Linked DNA regions of Homo sapiens: region 2 is linked to region 1. The links are contacts of gene promoters, found by promoter capture Hi-C in human tissues and cell types (Jung and others, 2019). All regions are on one chromosome and are shown on one strand. Each heading gives the region's core, a stretch centred on a gene start or on the middle of the fragment in contact. The rest is flanking DNA. Distances are from core to core; before and after follow the strand shown. Region 1 holds the start of NSUN7 (NOP2/Sun RNA methyltransferase family member 7). Region 2 has its middle 60 kb from the start of RBM47.

The links. Contacts are between HindIII fragments. The study calls those that stand out against the background at their distance.
Region 2: a fragment that was not itself captured here is called in contact with the fragment with the promoter of NSUN7 in region 1 in 1 of the 25 tissues and cell types used here (mesenchymal stem cells).

The regions. Positions count from the first base shown.
Region 1 is chr4:40,747,062-40,753,340 of GRCh38, reverse strand. NSUN7 (NOP2/Sun RNA methyltransferase family member 7) reads right to left here and starts at 3,386. Exons shown (of 12, transcript NM_024677.6): 1 at 3,041-3,386; 2 at 2,350-2,738. The coding sequence starts at 2,647. The HindIII fragment of the contact is 15,367 bases long and covers 1-6,279 here.
Region 2 is chr4:40,686,251-40,693,271 of GRCh38, reverse strand. No RefSeq gene overlaps it. Among named protein-coding and RNA genes, the nearest start is that of RBM47, 60 kb to the right of the region's middle. RefSeq lists an enhancer at 6,081-6,130. The HindIII fragment of the contact is 3,467 bases long and covers 1,104-4,570 here.

The DNA.
Region 1 (6,279 bases), core at 2,137-4,636:
TGTGCCATTGCACTCCAGCCTGGGTGACAGAGTGAGACTCTGTCTAAAAAAAAAAAAAAAGAAAGATAAAATAATTACAAGATCTTTCATAAAATAGAAAATAGGAGGGAGAGGACAAAAATAATAATCTATCACACATATCACTGTAATACAATCATTTAGTTAATGCATTAATTTTATATAGAATTATAATTCAGGCTTTTCTTATTGAGTACTAAAGGTAATACTCAATATTCCATTAGGAGAACAAATTGCCTAGAATAAAATTCTAGCATTAACATTAAATGCCAATTAATCAACACAGCTGCCCAGTCTGCATTTCACTGTTGCGAGAAAAAAAGTATAAAAATGTTCATTTGATTCATTGCATGAAATACAACACTTTGGTTAGGGGAGAGGGGAAGAAGATGGATGAAATAAAATCTCAGAGATTAAACTGGAGGAAGAATGGTTAAGACGGACTTAAAAGGAAAAGAAAAATTACTGAGGAGAAAACAAAGAAACAAAAAACAAAGAGACTCTCTGCAGACAACCAAAAATATATATTCCTGTCTAAATAATCAGTGAGACATTTTAATTCAACTGAGCATTTTTTTTTAATTTTAAAAAATAGAGATGGGGGGCCAGGTGCAGTGGCTCACGCCTGTAATCCCAGCACTTTGGGAGGCTGAGGTGGGTGGATCACAAAGTCAGGAGATGGAGACCATCCTGGCTAACACCGTGAAACCCCGTCTCTACTAAAAATACAAAAAATTAGCCAGGCATGGTGGCGTGCGCCTGTAGTCCCAGCTACTCAGGAGGCTGAGGCAGGAGAATGGCGTGAACCCAGGAGGCGGAGCTTGCAGTGAGCCAAGATTGTGCCACTGCACTTCAGCCTGGGCGACAGAGTGAGACTCCATCTCAAAAAAATAGAAAATAAAACTAAAAATAGAGATGGGGTCTTGCTATATTGTCCAGGTTTGTCTTGAACTCCTGAAGTCAAGCAATCGTCCCACCTCCACCTCCAAAAGTACTGGGATTACAAGTGTAAGCCACCGCATCTGGCTGAACTGAGTAATTAACTGCCTCCTACGAGCAAGGATGTACAAGGCTCATTAAGTACTAAGAAAATCATGCAAAAGAGTGTTGCCCTTTTTGAGGTGTCTCTTTAGGAAGGCTTCTGCTCATCATTTTGGCCATGCTGCTAATATTCTAAACATTTCTGGAACTTCTTTTTGGAACTACATTCAATCAGTTTACAAACCAACATAAAGTTTTTAGTCACAGCTAGTACGAAAACAAACAACTTCAAGCCTTTTGACTGCTCTCCTCATAGTAGCAATATTTGGTCATTTCCTAGTGTCAATTCCACAGGGTCTTGCTCTGTCACCAGGTTAGAGTGCAATGACACCATCTTGGCTCACTGCAACCTCTGCCTCCCAGGCTCAAGCGATCCTCCCGCCTCAATCTCCCAAGTATCTGGGACTAAAGACATGTGCCACCATACTGGGCTAATTTTTAAATTTTTTTTTGTAGAGAGGAGATCTCACTATATGCCCAGGCTGGTCTTTAACGCCTGAGCTCAATCAATCCTCCCACCTTGGCTTCGAAAAGTGCTGGGATTACAGGCCTGAGCAACCACCCTTGGCCTCAGATTGATAACTAACCATCCTTGAGTCTCAAACCCTGAAAGCAAATTAGAAAGGGAAGTTCTACTAAAGTTTGGCTCCTCCCATTAAAGCTAGTGGCTATGAATGGGATAGTCTTAATTGGGGTTGGTGTAATTTTGATATTCATTTTTTAAATTTTGCACCTTTTCTTTTTATTCCGTCTCTGTTCCTCTCCCCATCCTCCCTCACTGGTTTTATATTTGTGAAAGCTCATAAACTAAAATACCAAAAAAGGTAAACACAGGGAATGGAAAGAAATACACAGGGAGGCCAGGCGTGGTGGCTCACTGCCTGTAATCCCAGCACTTTGGGAAGCTGAAGAGGGAGGATTCCTTGAGGTCCAGAGTTTGAGACCAGCCCAGACAATAAAGCGAGACCCCTAAGTCTACGAGGGAAAAAAAAATACAGGGAGAGGGAAATGATCATTGGAATAAATTGTTTCCTTGTTGAATGTAATGACCGCGCACTACACCGATCTAAGGACAAACACAGTGCACGGGGAAATCTGCAATCCTGGGCTGGAAGAGCTAGTTTCATGGGAACCCTAATTCCTTGACACTTGCAATTAACCAAAGATATGCACATGCCTAAAACCAAAACCTGGTGTGAATGAGGGGAAGGGAGGAGGAGGGCTGCATTCCCCAAATTCTCTCGCTATTATTTTCTTTTAGTGTTGATCTTCCAGACTGGCACAACTCACATTTCAGGGCACTGAAAGCCAGCTCATAAGACAAACGCTGAAAGGACTGATCCTCAGACTCGGACAAGGACCGCAGGGGTTCATTCCCATACTTGATTAAGACTTTCTGTGCCGACTTTTCGATTCGAATACCCTGAAAAATGTTGGCTGCCATGACATAAACGGAGTCCGGATAGCCCGTTTTTTCGGGCACACCAGCTGAGCTTTTCCCACCGGACAGAGGCAGGGAAGTGAGTTGGGAGATGATCTCGGGATCTTCTTCGTTCGAAAACTCCAGTTCGCCCGTGGAATTCAGCATGTCTGCCCCTCGCCTGTCGTGAGTCCTTCACCCTGGGGTTAGAATTCCGATGTTCCAGGAAACGGCTTTCCTCGCATCTGCAGCATGGTCTCTGTGAAGAGAGAAGGTGATTGCAGTAAATCACTCTTTCTGCAGCACCCCTGTGGGTGGCCCCCTTCGTTGTGGCCTTAAAGACTAAGAGGGAGCATTTCCCGTCCCATCTGAGTGTCCCAGACTTCGAGCCTGGGACGCTCAAAAAAAAAAAAAAAAGCGAGGAGGGGTGCAGCGGCGGAGGGAGAAGAGCCCCAAGGAGACCGACGGCTTCCCTCAAGCCAGTCTGGGGGCAGAGCTGCCCCCGGAGCCCCGTCCGCGTCCCCACAGCCCAGTCACCGGCTCCCCCGACTCCTCCCTTACCCCGAGGGCGGATGGTTCCCGGGGCTTCGGGGACGAAGACGCGGAGGGCGGCGTCGGTCACAGGCCCTTGGGAGCCCCGGGACTGCGGGGCGACGGCTGCTGCCCGCGAAGGCCGTTTGGTTCAAATGCAGCCACTCCCACCGGCAGGATTCGGGGCAGGGGGGTCGCAGCCTCTGGCGCCCGGTTCGCTCCGGTGTCGTGAAGTGGTGGGCGCCTCGGGGCCTCGCCTGGCCTCGCGCGTGAGGCCTTCGCGGACGTGGCGGCGAAGAGGGGTGAGCGCGGTGCCCGGGGTCTGGCTGGCTCAGGCCGAGGAAAGCTCAGCCTCCCGAGTCTCCGGCAGTCGACTGCTCCCGGACCGGGTCTTCATGGCAACCGCGAGCGGAGGTGGGGCAGGGGGCGCGGCGCGAGGGCCGTTCCCGCGGGATTTGGCGGGTGCTACCTGTTGCCGGGAGAGTCGCTCTTCCCCCAGCGCGCGGAGACACCTGTTTCAGCCCCTCCGAGCCAGAGGCCTCTTGCACAGTTCCTGGACCTCACCGGGCCTGAGTGCGTGCCCTTGGCTTTGTTTATAAACATTTGGGGATATTTTTGAGGTAGTCTGACGTAGTTCCGTGGTTTTAACTCACAAGTTCCTGAAGTCCCTGTTAAAACTACACATTCTTTAAAATATTTTTAAAATATAGTAATAATTTTTTTTTTGAGACATGGTCTCGCTCTGTCGCCCAGGCTGGAGTGCAGTGGCGCAATCTCGGTTCACTGCAGCCTCCTCCTCCCGGGTTCACGTGATTCTCATGCCTCAGCCTCCCGAGTAGCTGGGACTACAGGCGCCCGCCACCACACCCTGCTAATTTTTGTATTTTTAGTAGAGACAGGGTTTCACCGTGTTGATCAAGTTAGTCTCGAACTCCTGACGTCAAGTGATCTGCCGGCCTTGGCCTCCCAACGTGCTGGGATTACATGCGTGAGCCACTGCGCCGTCTGTAATAATTTTTTTTAATAACAGAGACAGGGTTCCCATTATGTTGCCCAGGGTGGTCTCGAATTCCTGGGCTCAAGGAGTCCTCCCTCCTCGGCCTCCCAAAGTGCTGGGATTTCAGGCGTGAACCACCGCCTCCAGCTAAAAAAAAATCCTTGGAACCCATCCTAGAGATTTGAGTTGCTAAGACCCAGTAATTTGCATTTTTATCAGGTAACTGGCGATTCTGATGCAATCAGCCCAAAGACCACAGTTTGAAAAACTCTGGTATAGTTGAAAGACAACTGGTCCTAATTCCACCTCTGCCTTTCCTCCTTAGGGATTTGCCCTTCCTTCTTTAGGCTAAGGCCATTTCCATTTCCAGCCAGTGGTTAGTAGGATGAAGGGGAAAGAGAGGGCAGCCCATATTTTTCAATGACCTGAAAGGTGCACATATCACTTTGGCTCACATTTTATTGGTCAGAACTCAGTCATATACCCAGCAACCAAGAGGCTGGTAAATGTGTCCAGCTAAAAATAAGGGAACTATTACTGTAGAAGAAGGAGAGAATGGATAATGGGGAAAAAATTAGCAGTACAGAACTCTAACCCTGACCCCTTCTCTCAGAAATCCACCCACTTTCATTATCCCCGGAATACGTTAAACATTCCGTAACATTTTATGTATACATGCATTCATTCGTTCGTTTAACAAGTATATATTAAATTCTTGCTGTGTCCCTGGCATTGTGTTCAGCCCTACAAGTAAAATAATGAATGTATAGAAATGATCAGACACCTGACCGGGCGCGGTGGCTCACGCCTGTAACCCCAGCACTTTGGGAGGTCGAGGCGGGCGGATCACGAGGTCAGGAGATCGAGACCATCCTGGCTAACACGGTGAAACCCCGTCTCTACTAAAAATACAAAAAAATTAGCCGGGCGTGGTGGCGGGCGCCTGTAGTCCCAGCTACTCAGGAGGCTGAGGCCAGAGAATGGCATGAACCCGAGAGGCGGAGGTTGCAGTGAGCCGAAATTGGGCCACTGCACTGCAGCCTGGGTGACAGAGCCAGACTCCGTCTCAAAAAAAAAAGAAATGATCAAAGACCTTGCCCTCAAGAAATTAAAGATGGATATATTTGTATTTTGTCACCTTTTCATTTTTGTTATAAAGATTCGTGTACATACCTGCATTACCCCCCTTCTGCCATCTTTCTATCCACACAACACACACACTCTAAAATAGTCTTGTTTTATCTTTATCTTTTCATTTTTATTATATATCTTTTTTATTCCCAGATGCTAGCAAAATATCACTCTCTTTCACATACAGACATTCACAGAAGATTACAAATATGGAAGGTGTCTTAGAGGTCATGATATATTTTATCATGCATCACCCAGTACACAGTGATGTGAGGCAATAGCTAGCTATAAACTTTGAAATATTGTCATTCAAAATATAATTTGAAGAGTTTATTTTCTTTAATAATAGTTCAATGTAAGTAACAGTTTACTATATTGAAAACAAGGTTTAACGAGTCTCTATCCCCAAGGTAGAGCTTAGGCAAAGAGTTGTGGGGTTAGCAAATTCATGGTTACTATTTACTTTAATCATGTATATAATCCTGCCTCCTTACTTCTCACTCCTGGTTTATAGCCTCATTGTGGACTTAATGTATTTGAGGGGAGGGTCAGAGGAGAGCATATTAAATTTCAGTGAACACTGTAAAAAAGTAACCATAGAGACAGGCATATGAGTTCAATTGTTGTGAAAGCAGGATAGTAAAAAAAAAAAATGTAGTTTTTGTTTAAGTTACACTCTGTAATATGACCAGAGCATTAAATCAGACATGAGGAGAAAATCAAAATGTACCTGAGGCTTTCTGCCAAAGGAAATTAATGATTTTTCTTTCCCCAGGGGGTAGAATATTTAAGATATTTGTAAATTAACATTCTTGCATTTGACTCAGAGTACTAGTATATGTTAGGCATGTGAATATTCAAAATACATCTGCTCACTTGCATCAATTTGATCTAGACAATATAAAACGGTGCCCAGTTCCAATGAAGCCTGTTACAGAAATATAAAAAGCATAAGAAACATAAAGAATCTTAACTTGTGTTCTTAAACACCAGGACTCAACTTCCAGTTATTGCTTCTTAGAAACAGTATGGTAAATTTTCATTGCAACACCTTTTGCAGATTCCTCTGTCACCTAGGCTGGAGTGCAGTGGTGTGATCATAACTCATTGCAGCCTTGAACTCCTGGTAGCTCAAGCAATC
Region 2 (7,021 bases), core at 1,588-4,087, 60 kb after region 1:
GGTGGTGCATGCTTGTAATCCCAGCTACTCAGGAGGCTGAGGCAGGAGAACAGCTTGAACCAAGGAGGCAGAGGTTGCAGTGAGCCGAAATCGCACCGCTGCACTCCAGCTTGAGCCACAGTAGACTCCATCTTAAAAAAACAAACAAACAAAAAACAAACAAACCTATAAATCATTAAGCTTAGTGAGGAAGGCATGTCTAAAGCCAAGTTAGGTTGAAAGTTAGGCTTCTTGCAGCCAAATTGTGAATGCAAAGAAAAAGTTATTGGAGGAAATTAAAAGTGCTACTCCAGTGAACACACAAATGATACAAAAGCAAAACAACTTTATTTCTGATATGGAGAAAGTTTGAGTAATCTGGATAGATGCTCAAACCAGCCACACTATTCCTGAAGTCAAAGCCTAATCCAGAGCAAGGCCCTAACTCTCTTCAATTCTATGAAGGCTAAGAGAGAAGAGGAAGCTGCAGAGGAAAAGTTTGACACTAACAGATGTTGGTTCATGAGATTGAAGGAAAGAAGCCATTTCTGTATCATAAGAGTGCAAGATGAAGCAGCAAGTGCTGATGTAGAAGCTGTAGCAAGTTATCCAAAAGATCTAGCAAAGATTATCAATGAAGGTGGTTACACTCAACAACAGATTTTCAGTATAGACAAAACAACATTGTATTGGAAGAAGATTCCATCTAGGACTTTCATAGCTAGAGAGGAGAAGTCAATATCTGGCTTCAAAGCTTAAAAGGACAAGCTGACTTGCTAGGGGCTAATGCAGCTGGTGACTTGAAGTTGAAGTCAATGCTTATTTACCATTCTGAAAATCGTAGGGCCCTTAAGAATTATGCTAAATCTCCTCATCCTATGCTTTATAAATGGAATAACAAAGCCTGGATGACAGAACACCTGTTTACAGCATAGTTTACTGAATATTTTAAGCCCACCATTGAGACCTGCTGCTCAGAACAAAAGATTCCTTTAGAAATATTAGTGCTCAATGACAATGTGCTTATTCACCCGAGATCTCTCATGGAGATGTACAAGGAGATTAATGTTTTCATGCCTGCTTACACAACTTTCATTCTGCAGCCTATGGATCAAGAGTAATTTCGACTTTCAAGTCCCATTATTTAAGAGATAGATCTCAGCAGGATGCAGTGCCTCATGCCTGTAATCCCAGCACTTTGGCAGGACGAGGCAGGTGGATCACTTGTGCCCATGAATTCCAGACCAGCCTTGAGCAACATGGTGAAACCTTGTCTCTACAATTAAAAAAAAAAATTAGTTAGGCATGGTGGCAAGTGCCTGCAGTCCCAGCTACTCGGGAGGCTGAGGTGGGAGGATCACTTGAGCCCAGGAGTTTGAGGCTGCAGAGAGCTGTGATTGCCACTGCACTCCAGCCTGCATGACAGAGCAAGGCCCTGACTAAAAAAAAAAAAAAACAAACGAAAGAAAGAAATGATCTCATAAGGGGCTGAAGCTTGCATCAATAGTGATTCCTCTGATAGATCTGGACAAAATAACTTCTATACGCACTGGGAAGCCAAAAAATTGATGTGGCTCACTTTATTGCAATATCAACTTTATTGTGGTGGTCTGGAACCAAACCCACAAAATCTCCAAGAATGCCTGTATTTTTTTGCTTGCTTAAAGTTTGTCTCTCCCTGATCGAGACCATCCCGGCTAAAACGGTGAAACCCCGTCTCTACTAAAAATACAAAAAATTAGCTGGGCGTAGTGGCGGGCGCCTGTAGTCCCAGCTAATCGGGAGGCTGAGGCAGGAGAATGGCGTGAACCCGGGAGGCGGAGCTTGCAGTGAGCCGAGATCCCGCCACTGCACTCCAGCCTGGGCGACAGAGCGAGACTCCGTCTCAAAAAAAAAAAAAAAAAAAAGTTTGTCTCTCCCCACTAGAATGTAAACTCCTCGGGGGCAGGGACTTTGATTTGTTCCCTACCGTATCCTAAGCACCTCTAGGTGTTCAATAATCATTTGAAGGAATGAACAGATGAATGAATGAATGGATGAATGAAAGGTGGACTTGATGACCTCTTAAACTCCTTCCCCAGCTCACCAGCTGTAGTTGGAGAACCAGAACCAGCACTTCATGTTCTGCTACCTTGTGCAAAAGCTTCCTGGCCCCTTCCTTCGGGGCAAGTTCCAAAAATTGTGGCCAATCTCTCCCATCTTCTACTTCTTTCCCCATCTTAAGTGTCTATAAGGAACTATGCCAACCCTTCATCCAGTAGCAACTTTTCCAGTGCCAGCTACCTTCTCCCCAACTCCTGTGTTTTACCAGATGAGAAAGCAGGCCAGGGCAGCTGGGAGCCACTGGGGCTGGATTGGGAGCAACATTTGGTTGCTGTTGTCCAATTGCAGTGCACTGGAACTCCTCCAAGGACACAACAGAGAAGCTGCTGCCAGGTCTCCCCAAAGGCTGCATAGACTTCATCCCCACCATACAATGCCAGTCCTGTTGATAAATACAATGCCAGTCCTGTTGATAAATGCCCCTATATTGGTTGTAGCACAGAGGTGCAAACTACATTGAACACACCTGGTAAGTTACTTACTGTGTTTTTTTTTAGAGGGGGAAGCAGGCAAATGAGATTTTTAGTCTGTCTCAAAACATCAATATCTTCTTTTTGCAGGGAGAAAGTGCTGGGGAGGGGGAAGCAAAATATACAGAAAAGAGAGTGGATTAGGCACCAGAAGGTCTGGATTTGAATCCCAGTTTGTGAGTTGGTGTGTGCCACAGCCTTGGGCAAATCTCTTCCGTCTTCAGTTTCCCATCTGTAAGTAGAGATTAGAATTCCTGATCTGCTGGCCTTTCACGGATGTTGTAGGGATCATAAGATGATAATAGCTGCATACTTTGTGAACTATACAATACTATTCCTACATGGAGATTTTTATGAATAGAACCATAGTGGTGGCATCTCTCAAATGCCTGATGAAATGAAAGCATGATCTCTCTTCACCCAGTAATGAAAGTTCAACAGAGGTGAGGAAAGGAATCACTATACATTTTTAAATTTCGTATTTCTTTTTTTTCTTTTTTCAGAGTTGAGGTCTCACTCTGTCATCCAGGTTAGAGTGCAGTGGCATGATCACTGCAGCCTTGACCTCCTGAGCTCAAGCAATCCTGCCACCTCAGCCTCCCTACTAGTGGAGACTGCAGGTGTGAGCCACCAGGCCAGCTGGACTTTGCATTTCTATGGAAAATGACCTTTAGTCATTTATATTAAGTTAATAACAAAAAAATGGATTCATGCAGACATGGTGACTATTCGAAATTATGGCTCTGAAAAGAATTGACTTTTTTTTTGTTTGTTTGTTTTTGCAAAGAGTGGGTTTTGCCATGTTGCCCAGGATAGTCTCAAATGCCTGACCTCAAGTGATCCACTGCCTCACCCTCCCAAAGTGTTGGGATTACAGTTGTGGGCCACCTTTTTAAAGAATTTTCTTTAAAAAGAAAAAAGATTGCTTTGATTTTGTGTGTATGTGTATGTGTGTGTGCGCGCTCATTTGAAATAAGTGTTCATCCAGAAATGCTTTAAAAATATATTGCACATAGCTGAGCGCGGTGGCTCACACCTGTAATCTCAGCACTTTGGGAGGCTGAGGCGGGTGGATCACATGAGGTCGGGAGTTCGAGACCAGCCTGACCAACATGGAGAAACCCCATCTCCACTAAAAATACAAAATTAGCTGAGCATGGTGGTGCATGCCTGTAATCCCAACTACTTGGGAGGCTGAGGCAGGAGAATCACTTGAACCCGGGAGTCAGAGGTTGTGGTGAGCCGAGATCGTGCCATTGCACTCCAGCCTGGGCAACCAGAGCAAAACTCCGTCTCAAAAAAAAAAAAAAAAATATATATATATATATATATATATATATATTCCAGATAATCTTAACCTAAGCAAATAATTTAATTAAGATTGACATTTTAGGCTGAGCGCAGTAGCTCACGCCTGTAGTCCCAGCACTTTGGGAGTCCGAGGCAGGCAGATCGCTTGAGCTCAGGAGTTTGATACTAGCCTGAGCAACATGGCAAAACCCCATCTTTACAAAAAATACAAAAATTAGCCATGCATGGTGGCATACACCTGTGGTTCCAGCTATTTGGGAGGCTGAGGTGGGAGTATGGCTTGAGCCTGGGAGGCAGAGATTGCAGTGAGCAGAGATTGTGGCACTTGAACGGCCTGGGTGACAGAGCGAGACCCTGCCTCAAAAAAAAAAAAAAATTCAGAAATTAAAAAAAAAGATTGTCATGTTAGAGTACAATGTTATGAAAGAAAATGTCATCATGCTTGTTGAAGAGTATGAGCAAGACAGTACCCTAGTGTTCATTTGTCATTTGCAAGCATGACTTTACTGTGTATATCCAGAGAAATGGTGAGAATCGTTTACTGTTTATACGGGGAAGAGTAGGTGGGCATAGGTAAAATCTCAAATAAAAACCCTACAGTGAGTAGAATTAAATTATCTATATGTCTCTTCCCCACATTAAAAAGACTTGAGACTTATCAAAGAAAAAATCTAAAATTGCCTTGGGTGGTTGATTCTGAGAATGAGTCAGGTAAACCTGGTGTGCTGTGTGACACTGTAATGAAGTCTTCTGACTGCACTCCAATGTTCAGTTTCCAAAGCGTTTCCATCCAGCTTAGAACTGAGCCATGGCCTTGGCAACTTTATTCACGTACTTTGTGACTCAGTAGTTCCTTCTGCAGGATGTGAATGGAAAAGAGGGTGGACTCCTGCCTACAACATAGGCCTTGGTTACAGTATCCCTTTTGGTTAGCAGAGTTGATGAAACTAATTCAGTTGAAAGTAAATTGCTAAAATAAGAGCTTGAATTTGTCTGTGAATTTCAGATGTTTGTGTTATCCCTACCTACATAGCATGGAACTCCAACATGGTACTCCCCACCTAAACTGGCATGGCTGCAAGGATTTCTGAGAAATGAAGGGAGGTATGGATTTCTCCTGTTTTGCCAGTTAATGTTTGCCCACATTGGGAGGGGACCAGTGTGTATCTGGTAGTTCTGCCTGTGTCATTTGAGGTCATCATTTTGTCCTCTCAGGAGCTGAAAACACCACCCTTTAAACCTTCACCTTGACTCCTGGTTGCTCATACGTTTGGCAGCCTAGAGACCCATTTCCTTTCACGCATGTTTTAATCATGCAATACATGAAGCCTGGGAAATAAAATTTCCACATTATATAAATTGCAGTAATCAACTCTTGACAGATTTCTGCAAAATGTTTGTCGATAGCTTCCTTCAATGTCCTGAGACATTTTACAAAGAATCATTGTCAATGTTTCAGAGTGAAAGAAAAATGAGATAGTTATCTACATGATTGCTCCATTCTACTATTGCATGTGCTTGGACACCAACCAGATTTCTAACAGGGTTTAAAATGTCAGCCAGAATGTACTGAATCTATAGTAGAGGCTAAGATTAAATTTCCTTTGGTTTACTTAGATAAGCTGAGTTTGGGGTTAGTTTGGAAGGAAGGAGGGAGGAGTCACTGGTTTTAATAATATAATTCACTACCCTTTAATAAATCTGGTCTTACTTTCCCCTTTAGTCTGTTCCTTTCTGTGCTTTTTATCATAACCAAAGAGTTGGGTAATATTCTTTTTTTTTTTTTTTTTTTTTTTTTTTTTTTTTTTGAGACGGAGTTTTCCTCTTGTTGCCCAGGCTGGAGTGCAATGGCGCGATCTCGGCTCACCACAACCTCCGCCTCCCAGGTTCAAGCAATTCTCCTGCCTCACCCTCCCTAGTAGCTGGGATTACAGGCATGTGCCACCATGCCTGGCTAATTTTGTTTTTTTTTTTTAGTAGAGATGGGGTTTCTCCATGTTGGTCAGGCTGGTCTCGAACTCCCGACCTCAGGTGATCCACCCTCCTTGGCCTCCCAAAGTGCTGGGATTACAGGCGTGAGCCACTGTGCCTGGCCAGAGTTGGGTAATATTCAAATCTATAAATGGCATCTTCTTTGAAGAAGTTATTTAAATCAAAAAAAAAAAAAAAGGCTGGGCACAGTGGCTCACGCCTGTAATCCCAGCACTTTGGAAGGCCAAGGAGGGTGGATCACCTTAGGTCAGGAGATCAAGACCATCTTGGCCAGCATGGTGAAACCCCGTCTCTACTAAAAATGCAAAAATTAGCCGGGTGTGGTGGCTCATGCCTGGAGTCCCAGCTACTCGTGAGGCTAAGGCACGAGAATTGCTTGAACCTGGGAGGCAGAGGTTGCAGTGAGCCGAGATCATACCACTGCACTCCAGCCTAGGCAACAGAGAGTGAGATTCAGTCTCAAAACAAACAAACTAAAACAAACAAACAAAACTTAGCCAGGTGTGGTAGCAGGCACCTGTAATCCCAGCTACTCAGGAGGCTGGGGCAGGAGAATCACTTGAACCCAGGAAGCAGAGGTTGCAGTGAGCAGAGATTGCACCACTGCATTCCAGCCTGGGCGATAGAGCGAGACTCTGTCAAAACAAAAACAAAAATAAAAACGAAAATAAAAACAAAACCCACAAACTACCATGAAACGAAATTAGCCATTGAATCACATACATTTCTCTATCCCATGAGAAAATAAAAATGGAGCAACTCAAGCAATCCCTTCATACTCTCCCTAAATTAAACAAAGATGTAGAGTTCCCCACTGAAAATGAATTTGCTCAAATCAGACCTGAAGAGCATTACTTTGTTTGAAATTCAAACAGACACAGATGTTTTCTGTTTGATGAAAACAATTTCTACTCTTAAATTGCAAACAGGCTGGGCGTGCCGGCTCATGCCTGTAATCCCAACACTTTGGGAGGCCAAGGTGGGAGGATCGCTTGAGGCCAGGCCAGCCTGGGCAATATAAAGACACCCTGTGTCAAAAAAAAAAAAAAAAAAGAAGAAGAAGGTTGAAAACAGATATGCTAAGTTCACATGTCACTTTTGGGCCTCTTTGAGTATGCCTGGAAATGCTCCAGATTCAGCCCAGCCTGGCAACCAGCACAAGCTTT